Linked DNA regions of Homo sapiens: regions 2 and 3 are each linked to region 1. Evidence: promoter capture Hi-C in human tissues and cell types (Jung and others, 2019). All regions are on one chromosome and are shown on one strand. The core of a region is centred on a gene start or on the middle of the fragment in contact, and the rest is flanking DNA. Distances in the headings are between cores, read along the strand shown.

What was found. Contacts are between HindIII fragments. The study calls those that stand out against the background at their distance.
Region 2: a fragment that was not itself captured here is called in contact with the fragment with the promoter of ARFGEF2 in region 1 in 1 of the 25 tissues and cell types used here (lymphoblastoid cells).
Region 3: a contact is called between a fragment that was not itself captured here and the fragment with the promoter of ARFGEF2 in region 1, in 1 of the 25 tissues and cell types used here (lymphoblastoid cells).

Annotation. Positions count from the first base shown.
Region 1 is chr20:48,919,762-48,923,676 of GRCh38, reverse strand. ARFGEF2 (ARF guanine nucleotide exchange factor 2) reads right to left here and starts at 1,966. Exons shown (of 39, transcript NM_006420.3): 1 at 1,667-1,966. The coding sequence starts at 1,787. RefSeq lists an enhancer at 1,256-1,335 and silencers at 1,706-1,755, 1,796-1,895, 2,126-2,205. The HindIII fragment of the contact is 23,689 bases long and covers 1-3,915 here.
Region 2 is chr20:48,362,362-48,366,227 of GRCh38, reverse strand. It overlaps LINC00494 (long intergenic non-protein coding RNA 494), which reads right to left. Exons shown (of 5, transcript NR_026958.1): 2 at 1,031-1,339. Among named protein-coding and RNA genes, the nearest start is that of LINC00494, 4.4 kb to the right of the region's middle. The HindIII fragment of the contact is 7,199 bases long and covers 1-3,866 here.
Region 3 is chr20:48,344,791-48,348,730 of GRCh38, reverse strand. No RefSeq gene overlaps it. Among named protein-coding and RNA genes, the nearest start is that of LINC00494, 13 kb to the left of the region's middle. The HindIII fragment of the contact is 5,036 bases long and covers 1-3,940 here.

The DNA of each region.
Region 1 (3,915 bases), core at 717-3,216:
CCAGGCAGATTTCAACGTGGAGTTATAAATACCAGGCTCTTGCCTAACAAACTGCTTTGCAGTGCTTATCCCACATTGCTGATAAAATACCCAACAGCCTTGGTTATTGGAAGAGAAAAGCTTTAAAAATCTACATCTCAGTAAATTCCTTCCACTGATCCTGAATTTCACGGACTAGCAACTGTTTCCAGATTATCTAGACTACCACCTCTGCATCAATAGTTGGCCCCTGAGGGAGTCTCAGGGCCCTCTGAAAATCTGATGAAAGCCAGGGACCTTCTTTCCAGGGAAGTGCAAAGTTCACCAGCCTATTTCTAAATGCCAAAAGAACACTACTCTATACTTTGTAGCAAATGAAAGGAGAAAGGTGATAACAATCTCAAACTATGTGACTAAAAATCAAACTTTCCATTTGCTCATTTTGTTAGGAAAAACAGGCCTTTACAGATTCCAAACCAAAGACGTTGGGGCAGTGAATTAGCTTGAAAACAGCTCTGGTCAAATGCATGGATTCTCCCACCAAGAACTCTCTTCTGAAACTCCATATGGTGGATAGTTCTTGCCTTTCAGTATTCAGCTCAAGTGTCACCCTCTTGGAAAAGATTACTTTCCTGACCACCTGATTACTTTTCCTCTTGGAAAAGATTACTTTCCTGACCATGGAAAGCAGTCCTCAAGCCCTCTTTATCACATCTTGCTGTTTTATTTTCAAAATAGTATTTATCAGTATTCCAAAATACCTCACCTATTTTCTTAATTAATTATTTTGTCTCCTCTATTCGAGTATAAGCTCCATAGGGGTAAGGACCATGTCCGTCTTGTTCCCCACTGAATTCTCAGTACCTGGTATGCAGTGGGCACTTGATAAATATTTGTTAAATGATTAAAACTGAAAGATAGGATAGTGATTTTGCTATCAATTATCAAGCCTTTAACTATTAGTTAGAATTCTCCCTCTTTCCATAATCTGAGGGTCCATTCAATCAGCAAATATTTATCGAGCACCTACTGTGCGCCAGGCACTGTTGCAAGCGCAAGGGATACAGCAATGAATAAGTCAGACAAGTATCTTCGCGCTGAAGACCTTGTATTTTAGTGGACTGCTAGGAATAAGCAGATGTCTTGCTCACTACAATGCCTGGGAGATCCAGAACACCTTCTACAATCCTTCCTTGAGGGAAAGAGCTATGGGAGATCCCCAAACCAAAGGAAAACATTCTCCAACGGGCACTTCCAAAACAAGAATCAGGGGTTTCCCTAAACCAGTTGGACGGCTCTTCCTACATGCTCTGTTCACCTAGGGGAACCCCAATCAGCAGAGCTCAGGTAACGAAAAAACTTGGGGCAAGGGCTACTGTTTCTAGGACTTGGAGGTGGTGAGGGGAGGAACCAGGAAACAGGGCGACAAGGAATCGTGGCAAAAGCCCTGAGCTGGAACCCTGAGGAACAAGCTCTGGTTGTCACCAACTTGCTAGGTGACCTTGGGCCAGTCCCGAGCTGCCCGGGCAACACTTCCTCCGGGGGTATAATGAGGAGGAGGCCGGAAGGGTGGAATTCGGGATCGGGGGGAAGCGGAGGCCAGGAGGCCGGGCCAAGGCCGAGTAGGATAGGGCAACGGCCGACGTGCTGAGGCCAGCGCGGGGCAGGGCGGGAGCGGCTCACCCACCGAGCGCCACCTGGCAGGCCCTGCGCAGCTGGGAGTGCTGGGGCCGCTTCACCTCCTTGTCGGCTAGGATCTTCTCCAGGGCCCGGGACACGAACATGCTCTTGGTCTGGCTCTCCTGCATGGCCCCGGCCCGGCGGGGGCTGACGGCCCCGCGGGCGGGCGGCGTGAGCGAGATGGCGAGCTAGGCTGCGGGCCCGGCGTCCCGGCCGGCACCGGCCGCGTCCGTCCGCGCCGCCCCGTCAGGAAGCGACACCTCGGCCCCACGGCGCCGCCATGTTGGAGCGCGTCACGTGACCACGTGACTGGCGAGGCCGCTACGGCCGCCTAGCGTCCGTCGGCCCCGTGACCCCCAGCGGGGCGGAGCCTAAGGCTGGGGGCGGAGCGGAGTCAGGTGGGCGAGAGACAGAAGGCGAGGGTGGAGGGTGGAAGAAGAGAAGGTGGGGAGGGGAGTGGGCATGGGCGAAGGGTATAGGGGACGCGGGGGCTAAAGAAAGGCGAAAGCGGGGAGAGGTGGTGATGGAGATGAGAGGAGAGAAGCGCAAGGTAACGGGAGGTGAAGGGGAGCACGAGAATGGAGATGACGTGGGTAAGAGAGGAGATGAGGAAAGGAAGGGGAACGAGAGGATTGGCAAAAAAGAACGGTGACAAGGAGAGATGATAAAGGGGCAGGAGGAGAAGGCGAGTAGGAAAGAAAAGAGGTGAGGGAGCGAGGACTGGAAGCTGGTGAATGAATGAGAAGTGATCGGGAGTAAGGGGCGTCAGGAGGAAGGAGGAAGGGCGATGAGAAGGCGGCGGCGGAGGGGAAGGGGGGAGGCCCGGCGCGGCGGCTCACGCCTCTAATCCCAGCGCTTCCGGAGGCCAAGGCGGGAGCATCGCTTGAGCCCAGGAGTTCGAGACCAGCCTGGGCAACATAGGGAGACCCTTTCTCTACAAAATAAAAAGTAAAACAGCCGGGCCTGGTGGCGCTGCTTGTGGTCCCAGCTACTGGGGAGGCTGAGGTGGGAGGATCGCTTGAGCCTCGGAGGTTGAGGCCGCAGTGAGCTGTGATGGCACCACTGCACTCCAGCCTGGGCCACAGAAGGAGACCCTGTCTCAAAAAACAAACAAACAAAAAGGAGGTGAGTTAGTTATGGAGGAGATGAGGTGGTGTGGGAAGAGGTGAGAGGGAGGCACAGAGGTAAAAGAAAAAGGAGAAAGACAGGAGGGAGAGGGGAAGTGAAAAGGAAAGAGAGGTAGAAATGAGAGGAGGGGAAAGAGTAGGAGAAAGGGTGAAGGGAGAGGAGGTAGGAAGGGGAGCTGTCAGGAAGAACAGAAAAGAAAGAAAAAGATGAGAGTAACAAGTTAGGAAAACAGGAAAGAGATGGAAAAAGGAATGGTGTAGGAAGGAGGTGAAGGGGAAGGAGGTGAGGAAGAGTGGAAAGAACATGCTGGGAGAATAGGAAATGGAAGGGGTGGAGGGAGAGGGGAGGTGAAAGGAAGACAGAGAGGGAGAGAGAGAAGGTGTGTTTATGTCTATTCTCCACAAGCAGGGTTTCACCACAGCCACTGGCAAGATACACACATCCATATGACCCTCCTGTCACAGCAGCAGTGACCTTGCAGTTCAGTGAACTTCTGTTTATTGAGTGTCGCAGCTGTGCATAGTATACCAGGAAGCACTGACCTCTCTCTGTAGTTTATCCTGTTATAAACCTGTGAACCCTCACAGTGCAGTGAACTGGACCTGGGCTTTGGGAGTCAGGGGAAGAAACCCAGATGGCCAGTGTCACACAGCCTGCAAATGAGTGCTGGGGGACAGATACTCTGGCCCCAAGGCAGCTTCCACTCCATTCCACAATGATGCTATCACAGCAACCATTAGTGGTGTCCCCTGGGCCCCTTCCCCCAAGGGCAGCCATGGGCTTATGCAAAGACAGTTGTCTTCCTTGGAAACCTCAGAGGCACAGACATCCCAGGCAGGCATGCTCCAGTGCTCGGGTCTTAGCTCAGACGTCTCTGGGAAGCCTTCCCTGACCTGTCTCAAGTAGCCCCCTCTCTCCCTAGCTGATGTTTTCCACAGCACTTTCTGAGCTTTTGTACGTGTTGACTATTTGTTGTCTCACTAAAGCACGGTTGCAGAGGGGCAGGCCATATCCCCAGGGCCCGGTCTACAGTCACGTTGAATATTTCATGGCCTTAAATTCTGCAAGTTCCACTGCTTGTAATGCGATTTCGCAGTCACTCCCAGCAAGAGGTAGAGTTTGTTTCTC
Region 2 (3,866 bases), core at 1,366-3,865, 560 kb after region 1:
CCCTGTTCCCAAGGGGCAGGCCCAAGCTCTTCTGGTCTAGTTCAATGGAGCAGTACCTCTGTGCATCGGAGGAGCTTTTGCTTGTTTGTTTTGTTTTTCTCTAATCAGACATGCAAGGGTATATTTAGCTCTTCTAATGCAGAGAAAGCCTGTTTGGCTACCATTATGTCAGTTTCTTTTCTACTTTTGCAAACTTTCTTTCACTAAACATTCATCAAACCTAGAGCTGGCCTTTTCCTGGTGACAAGAAAATAGCAGGGGTGTTTGTGTCCTCTTTGGATTACGCTGACATTTCTGTCCATCCTGACATCTTCACTGGAGAGAATCCAACTGTGCCCCCTCCTGATGACTGTTCCTGTTGGGAAGTTTCTTACTAAATAACCATCAGCATCATTATCATTGTGCATCTTTGGGACAGGAAGAAGGGAGGGCAAAGTTCTGTCCTAGACTATTAGGAGTCAAGAGGGAAGGAGACGGGAGCTGCTGACCTCTGACGGCTTCCCCAGGGGGCTCTGGCTGGGCTGCTCAGCTGTGTTGTCTCACAGCATATGCTTCACAGCTCCCTAGTACCTCAGTATCATTCTTACCATAGGACAGAAGACGATGGCAAAGCTCAGAGAGGTTGTGTAACTAGCCTGAGGTCACACAACTACAGAATTTCCATATGGAAGAAACTTTTGGCAATTACCTGGAAGGGGCTTCTGGGGGGCTGTGTGCTGCTGCTTTTGCAGAGCAACGTCACTGTGTATTTGTGGTGGATGTGGAGGTGAGATGAAAATGAACAGACGGTTACAACCATTCCAAGCCACCTCTTGACATCACCAGTGATAATAAATGGTCATCAGCTCTCATGTCAGGACCCAGGGGCACAGGCCTGGGGAGGCTGCTGAGAGACGCCACCGTGCCTCAGCTGTTCGGTGTTCTCATGATCCCTGGTGGGTGTCGGCTCATCCAAGCAGGTGCTCACTCATCCATTCTCTCCCTCACTTCCTCATTCTCTCTCCCACTCTCCCGCTCACTTGCTGCTCACCTGCCACGTCTTCCAGGTAAAGGCGTCTGAATGGGGCCATTCACGGGTTGACTGCTCCTCTCCCACCTTTTCCGTTCTCACTGTCTCCACACCAGACCCCACAACCACAGGGCCTCCAAAGACTCACTTTGCTTCAACTGCTCTCCCCTGCCCTGGGTTTGACTTAAGCAACACCTTTGCTTGACCAAGCATGAAGGTTGCTGAGACAGAAAGAAAGTCTTCATGTCTTGGTAATCCCCCTGGCCTAGGGCTGCCCACTGGCCTGTGTGTTATCCTTCGAGAATCATCTGAGGAGTGATGAGGCCTATCCTAGCAGAAAGAAGACAATTGTTGGGATGGCAGGATGACCCTGTGGGTATTTCTTTACTGCTAACTTGAAAGCATCCTCAATGCCTCAGTGCCCAGTCCTGTATATTTCTTCAATCAGAAGTTCAGTAATGGGGGAACGGAAAGTAAGCAGGAAATAGAAGAAACCAGACTAATTGATCTGATGAGGAGAAAGGGAAGGCAGGTGTAAAGATAGTTGCTGTAAAAGTTGTTGTGAAAACATCTGAAAGAATCATATTCTCTATGGCCACTGGAGCTCAGTAAGATCAAGCCACAGTTTGAATACTGTTAGAATAAGCTATATATAAAAACACATTTTTTGCCTACTGAGGCAGTGGGGCACTTATATAGTCATTTCATTAGTGCCTTGTTTTAAGTAAATATGTTAGAACTTAGGGAGGAGTAAGGACTAGCCTCAGGTTCAAGAAAGATAGGATCATCTTCTCCCAGATCTGTAGCAGGTGTGGAAAGCTCTTTGTTCTGGACTTAGAGATGTGAAGATGAGGGTGAGAGCCTAGAGCTGCCATTGACCATCTTGCTGCAGAGCAAGAGAGTGGCCCAAGAATGGAGCCCAAACCTGAGCAATCAGAGCCAATGATGGAGAGAGCATGGGTCCTGAGAATGTCATTTGACACCTGGATCTACCCATGCCTGCAACCCACACTGCCCCCAGAGTTCTCTGCTAACAGAATCAACACATTTAATTAGAAATCTTCTTTTAAAAAGCTGGGTTGAATTGGCTTCCTGTTGTTTGTAATCTAAAACTCCAGACTCATACTCACCTAAAATTTCAGGAGTCATTGATTAAAAAGCAACATCATGTCCAGTTAAAATGGTTTGTCCACCAGGTTCCATAACAAGGCTCCTAAGGACTGTGAAGTCAGATAGAGCTTTTCCTTCCAGAAAATGGCATTGTGGTGACAATGGTGCAGTTGACCCCTTAGATATAGAGCCAGAGCCAGAGTCATTTTTTTTTTTTTGAGACAGAGTCTCACTCTGTCACCAGGCTGGAGTGCAGCAGCGCAATCTAGGCTCACTGCAACCTCTGCCTCCTGGGTTCAAGTGATTCTCCTGCCTCAGCCTCCTGAGCAGCTGGGATTACAGGCACGTGCCACCACGCCCAGCTAACTTGTATCTTTAGTAGAGATGGGTTTTCACCATGTTGGCCAGGATGGTCTCCATCTCCTGACCTCGTGATCTGCCCGGCTTGCCTCCCAAAGTGCTGGGATTACAGGTGTTAGCCACTGCACCTGGCCACCAGAGTCACTTTTTATAAAAAGAAGAGAAACTTGTGAAAAATCATTCATGATTCCATGAAAGGAACAATTCAATATTAAACAGTAGGCCAAAAGCTTAAACTTTTATATTAAATCCAAATGAGCTTAAAACTATATGGACTGGGCCTGGCAGGGTGGCTCACATCTGTAATCCTAGCACTTTGGGAGGCCGAGGCGGGCAGATCACTTGAGCCAGGAATTCAACACCAGCTTGAGCAACATGGCGAAACCTCATCTCTCCCAAAAATGCAAAAATTAGCCAGATGTGGTGGCACACGCCTGTAGTCCCAGCTACTCAGGAGGCTGAGGCAGGAGGATCTCTTGAACCCTGGAGGTGGAGGTTGCAGTGGGCTGAGATCGTGCCACTGGACTCCAGCCTGGGTGACCGTGTGAAACCCTACCTCAAAAAACAAACAAACAAACAAACAAACAAACAAAAACCTATATGAACTGATTTCTTAAGCCCAAAGAGCCTTAGTTGACCCATCAACTTTAAACTGGAGATAACTGATTTTCCACTGTTTTTCTGTCTGGTACAAAGAAATGGGAAAGTGAAGTGTCCCTCACATAATGCCCACCCAGCAACTGGCCACCTAACAACTTTGAAGTGGCCCAGTGTCTCTTCCACCCTCTCATGGCAGAGACGGAAGCACCAGAGGCTTATGTGTGCCTCAGTGGAGCTTCCATTCCCAGTGGTACTCAGGGCCTCGTGGACTTGCCCCAGAGCAGACTCTTTCATATGGAGCTAAAAAATAAGACAGAAAGCTGTAGGGATGCCCTATGTTTAAGAAAGAAATTACTTTGCATCAAATTATTTAGTGTTTCCCATGGTTCGGTGGCTCTTTGTGCTAAAAGGTCAGACCCAGCAGGGGCCCTGTGCCTTGGTCTGGATTTGTACTTGAAAGAGGAGGTGCTGGAGTGGCCGGGCACGGTGGCTCACGCCTGTAATCCCAGCACTTTGGGAGGCTGAGATGGGCAGATCACAAGGTCAAGAGATTGAGGCCATCCTGGCTAACACGGTGAAACGCTGTTTCAACTAAAAATACAAAAAAATTAGCTGGTGTCGTGGTGGGCACCTGTAGTCCCAGCTACTTGGGAGGCTGAGGCAGGAGAATGGCATGAACCTGGGAGGCGGAGCTTGCAGTGAGCCGAGATCGCGCCACTGCACTCCAGCCTGGGCGACAGAGGGAGACTCCGCCTCAAAAAAACAAAAAACAACAACAACAAAAAAA
Region 3 (3,940 bases), core at 1,122-3,621, 580 kb after region 1:
AAACAATAGACTAATCAGAAAGCATAAATGTGAAATCCAGGGAGTTAGATGCCCACAGGGGGATCTGAAAAGTTCCCATGTTCTTAATCTAGAAGGGCACATACATGTGCAGGGCTGTGTGCATGCTCAGGAAAGAACCGAGAGGGTCCTAAACTCTCACCTCTGGCTGGCCTTAAAGCTGTGCTCAAGCAAGAAGTGAAGGCTTTGCCAGAGTTGTCAACTGCCTGAGAGTGAAGATATACCCCAAGAGATATAGAGGTCCTCGGCAGAGACTGGAAACATTAGTTCCGGGCATTTAAGGAAGTCTTTCTTCAATCACGCAGAGACTTGTTTCCATACATGACAAGGAATATAGACTTTAAAGAATTGGTTCAGAAAAGCCACTAAACAAACATCATGAACAACAAAAAACAAAAAGCAACAAACTCTGGGGGAGGAAAAGAACCAGATTTCAAGAGTTGCCAAAAAATATTATCTAAACAATCTATTTTTCAACAAAAAAATTGATGAGCTATGCAATAAAAAAAGAAAGTATATACCACACACAAGAAACAAAAGCAGCCAATAGAAACTGTCCCTGAGGACGTCCGTACATAGGACTTAACTAGACAAAGACTTTAAGTCAGTCATTTTAAATTTGTTCAAAGAATTAAAGAAAACCATGTTTAAAAAACTAAAGAGTGTAGGAAGATGATATTTGCTATTAAGAATAGCAATAAAAATACAGAAATTATTCTTAAAATATAAAAAAGAACTAGTTAGAAGTCTTGGAGTTGAAAAGTACAATAATAGAAATAAAAATTGACTAGAAGGGGCTCAAGAATATATTTGAGCAGGCAGTGGAAAGACTCAATGAACTTGAAGATGGGTCTATTGAGATAATACGGTCTGAGGAACAGAAAGAGAAAAGAATGAAGAGATGTGAACAGAGCTCAGAGACCTGTGGGACACCATCAAGTGTGACAACATACACATAATAGGTGTCCTAGGAGGAAAGGAGGGACAGAAAGGGAAGGAAAGAATCACTGAGAAATACTAGCCAAAAAAATTCCCAAGTTTGATAAAAACCAGCCAGGAAGCTCGATGACCTCCAAGTAGAATAAACTCAGACATCCACACTAGTCACATCATAATCAAACTGTCAGAAGACAAAGGTAAAAAAAAAATCTTGAAAGCAGCAAAGGACTTGAAAATACATTTCTGAAAAGACATACAAATGGAGACTAAGCACAGAAAAGATGCTCGACATTGTGAGTCATTAGAGAAATGCAAGTTAAAACAATGAAATCCATTTCACATGTACTAGTATGGCTGTAATAGAAAAGATGGACACTAACAAGTATTGGAAAGAATGTGGAAAAATTAAACCCTCATGCATTGCTTATGAACATGTAAAATGGTACTGTTACTGTGGAAAACAGTTTAGCAGTTCCTCCAATGTTAAATATAGACATATCATATGATCTAGCAACATATGCCATTCCCAGACATATACGTAAAAGAATTGAAAACATATGTCTACACAAAAGCTTGTATATAAACGTTTATAGCAAATTGTTCATAATAACCAATAAGTGGCAACAACACATATGTCCATCATTTTATGAATAACTCATAACAGATAGATAACATATTTAAATATGGATAGGTAATAGATAACAGATTTAAATGTGGTATACCCATTCAATGGCATTATACAGCCATAAAAAGGAATATAGTACTGATGCATGCCACAATATAGATTAACCTTGAAAACATTATGCTAAGTCAAAGAAACCAGTCACAAAAGGCCACATAGTGAGCAATTTCATTTATGTGATACATCCAAAACAGGCAAATTCATAAAGACAGACAATAGGTAAGTGGTTGCTGGGGCTGGGAGGTGGGGAGAGGAATGGGAGATGGCTGCTAATGAATGTGGGGGTTCTTTTTTTTTTCTTTTTTTCTTTCTTTCTTTCTTTTTTTTTTTTTTGAGGCAGAGTCTCGCTGTCACCAGGCTGGAGTGCAGTGGCATGATCTCAGCTCACTGCAAGCTCTGCCTCCCATTCACAGCATTCTCCTGCCTCAGCCTCCCTAGTAGCTGGGACAACAGGCGTGTGCCACCATGCCCAGCTAATTTTTGTATTTTTAGTAGAGACACGGTTTCACCATGTTGGCCAGGCTGGTCTCGAACTCCTGACCTTGTGATAGGCCCGCCTCGGCCTCCCAAAGTGCTGAGATTACAAGCATGAGCCACTGTACCCGGTGAATGTGGGGTTTCTTTTGGGGATGATTAAAATATTCTAGAATTGAAGCCAGGTACAGTGGCCTGTGCCTGTAATCCCAGCTACTCAGGAGGCTGAGGTAGGAGAATCCTTTGAGCCCAGGAGTTCCAGATCAGCCTGGGCAACATAGGAAAGCTCCACTTCTAAATAAATAAAAATAAATAAAATGTTCTAGAATGAGATAGTGGTGATGGCTATGCAAGTTTGTGAATATACTAAGAACCATTCAACTACATACTTCAAAATGGTGAATTTTAGGGTATATGGATGACATAACAATAAAAAAATTACCTAAGAATAAAATTAAATGATGCACAACCAAGAGAGATATATTAAATTAAATTAAAGCAGAGAGAGAGAAAAAGGTCCAGATTTGAGGCAGTCATTGAAAACCTATAAAACTGTAAAATGTGGACCCATATTTTCCCACAGTAACAGAGGCTGAAGCTGAGGGGCCGATGCTCCTTTAGAAGGTGCTTGGGCTCCCCAATTGGCCTCATTCCACACCCCTCACTATAGTCACCTGGCTTCATTTGTTTATGTTGTCATCTAGTTCCTGAGGAACTCACAGTGTGACACTTGCAGGGACAAAACCCTGGGGCCACCACATTGGACAGCCCAGTGGCACCACTGACATTGTGTTTCCCGGAAGCAGTGCCCCAAGGACTTTACCAGAGAGGTGGCCCTGCTGATTTGCCCCTACTCGTCTCACCCTAAGAAGCTCCTACCAGCCTGGAATCTTATACCAGCATTTCTGAAACCCCACCCAGGCAGTACAGCCTAGTGGTTCCATGTGGGAGCTCAGGCTCCAGACTCCTGAGGTTGGAGTCATCATCACTACAATGTCTGGATTTGGATACTTGGACAAGTTACTTGATCTCTCTGTGCTTGGCTTCATCCTCATAAATGCAAATGATAACAAGACTGTCTCCCTTGGAGGAGTTTGGTGAGAATGTAATGAATTGATATAGGCAAAGTACTTAATCTGCACCTGGCCTAATAAGTAAATGGTGGCTCTTGTCATTATTGCCTGGAAGATAGCACACATCAGTGAGGTGTGGTGAAAGCAACCGTGAGCTGCTGAGAAATGCAGAAAACAGTCCTGGTTCCACCCCTCTCTCCCTGAAGCACCCTGGACAAGCACCCCAGAAAGGACCCCTTTCCTGTCCCTTTTCGTCCCTGTGAAATGAAAGGACAGGTCACTGGTTGACCTCTGTTTGAGGTTCCTTTCAGCCCAGATAGTCTAGGACTCTGTCATTACCACTGTACTGTTTGCTAGTTGAACAGAAAACTAACCACATTAATCAGGAATGCTTTCAGCTTCCAGGAACAGAAAGCGTAGCTATAGAAACTTAATTACATAACTGTTTTCCTCAAATCTTGAGAAATCTGGGGTAGGAAATTGCTGGTCGTGGTTCAGCATCTTGGAGATGGCATCACCGAGACTTCCACAAGCCTCTTGGCCTTTCCCTCAAGGCTGCAAACCGGCTGCTGCTGCTCCATCTTTCACATCCATCATACCCATCACATCAACTGCAGGAAGATGGGGAAGAGAGGGCAAGACAGTGACTAAATCAAGAAAGCAAAACAGTTTCAGGAAACCCACAGCAGACTTCTACTTATATTTCATTGTCCAGGACTCTGTTTCCTGCAATGCCTAGCTGGAAGGTAGCTAG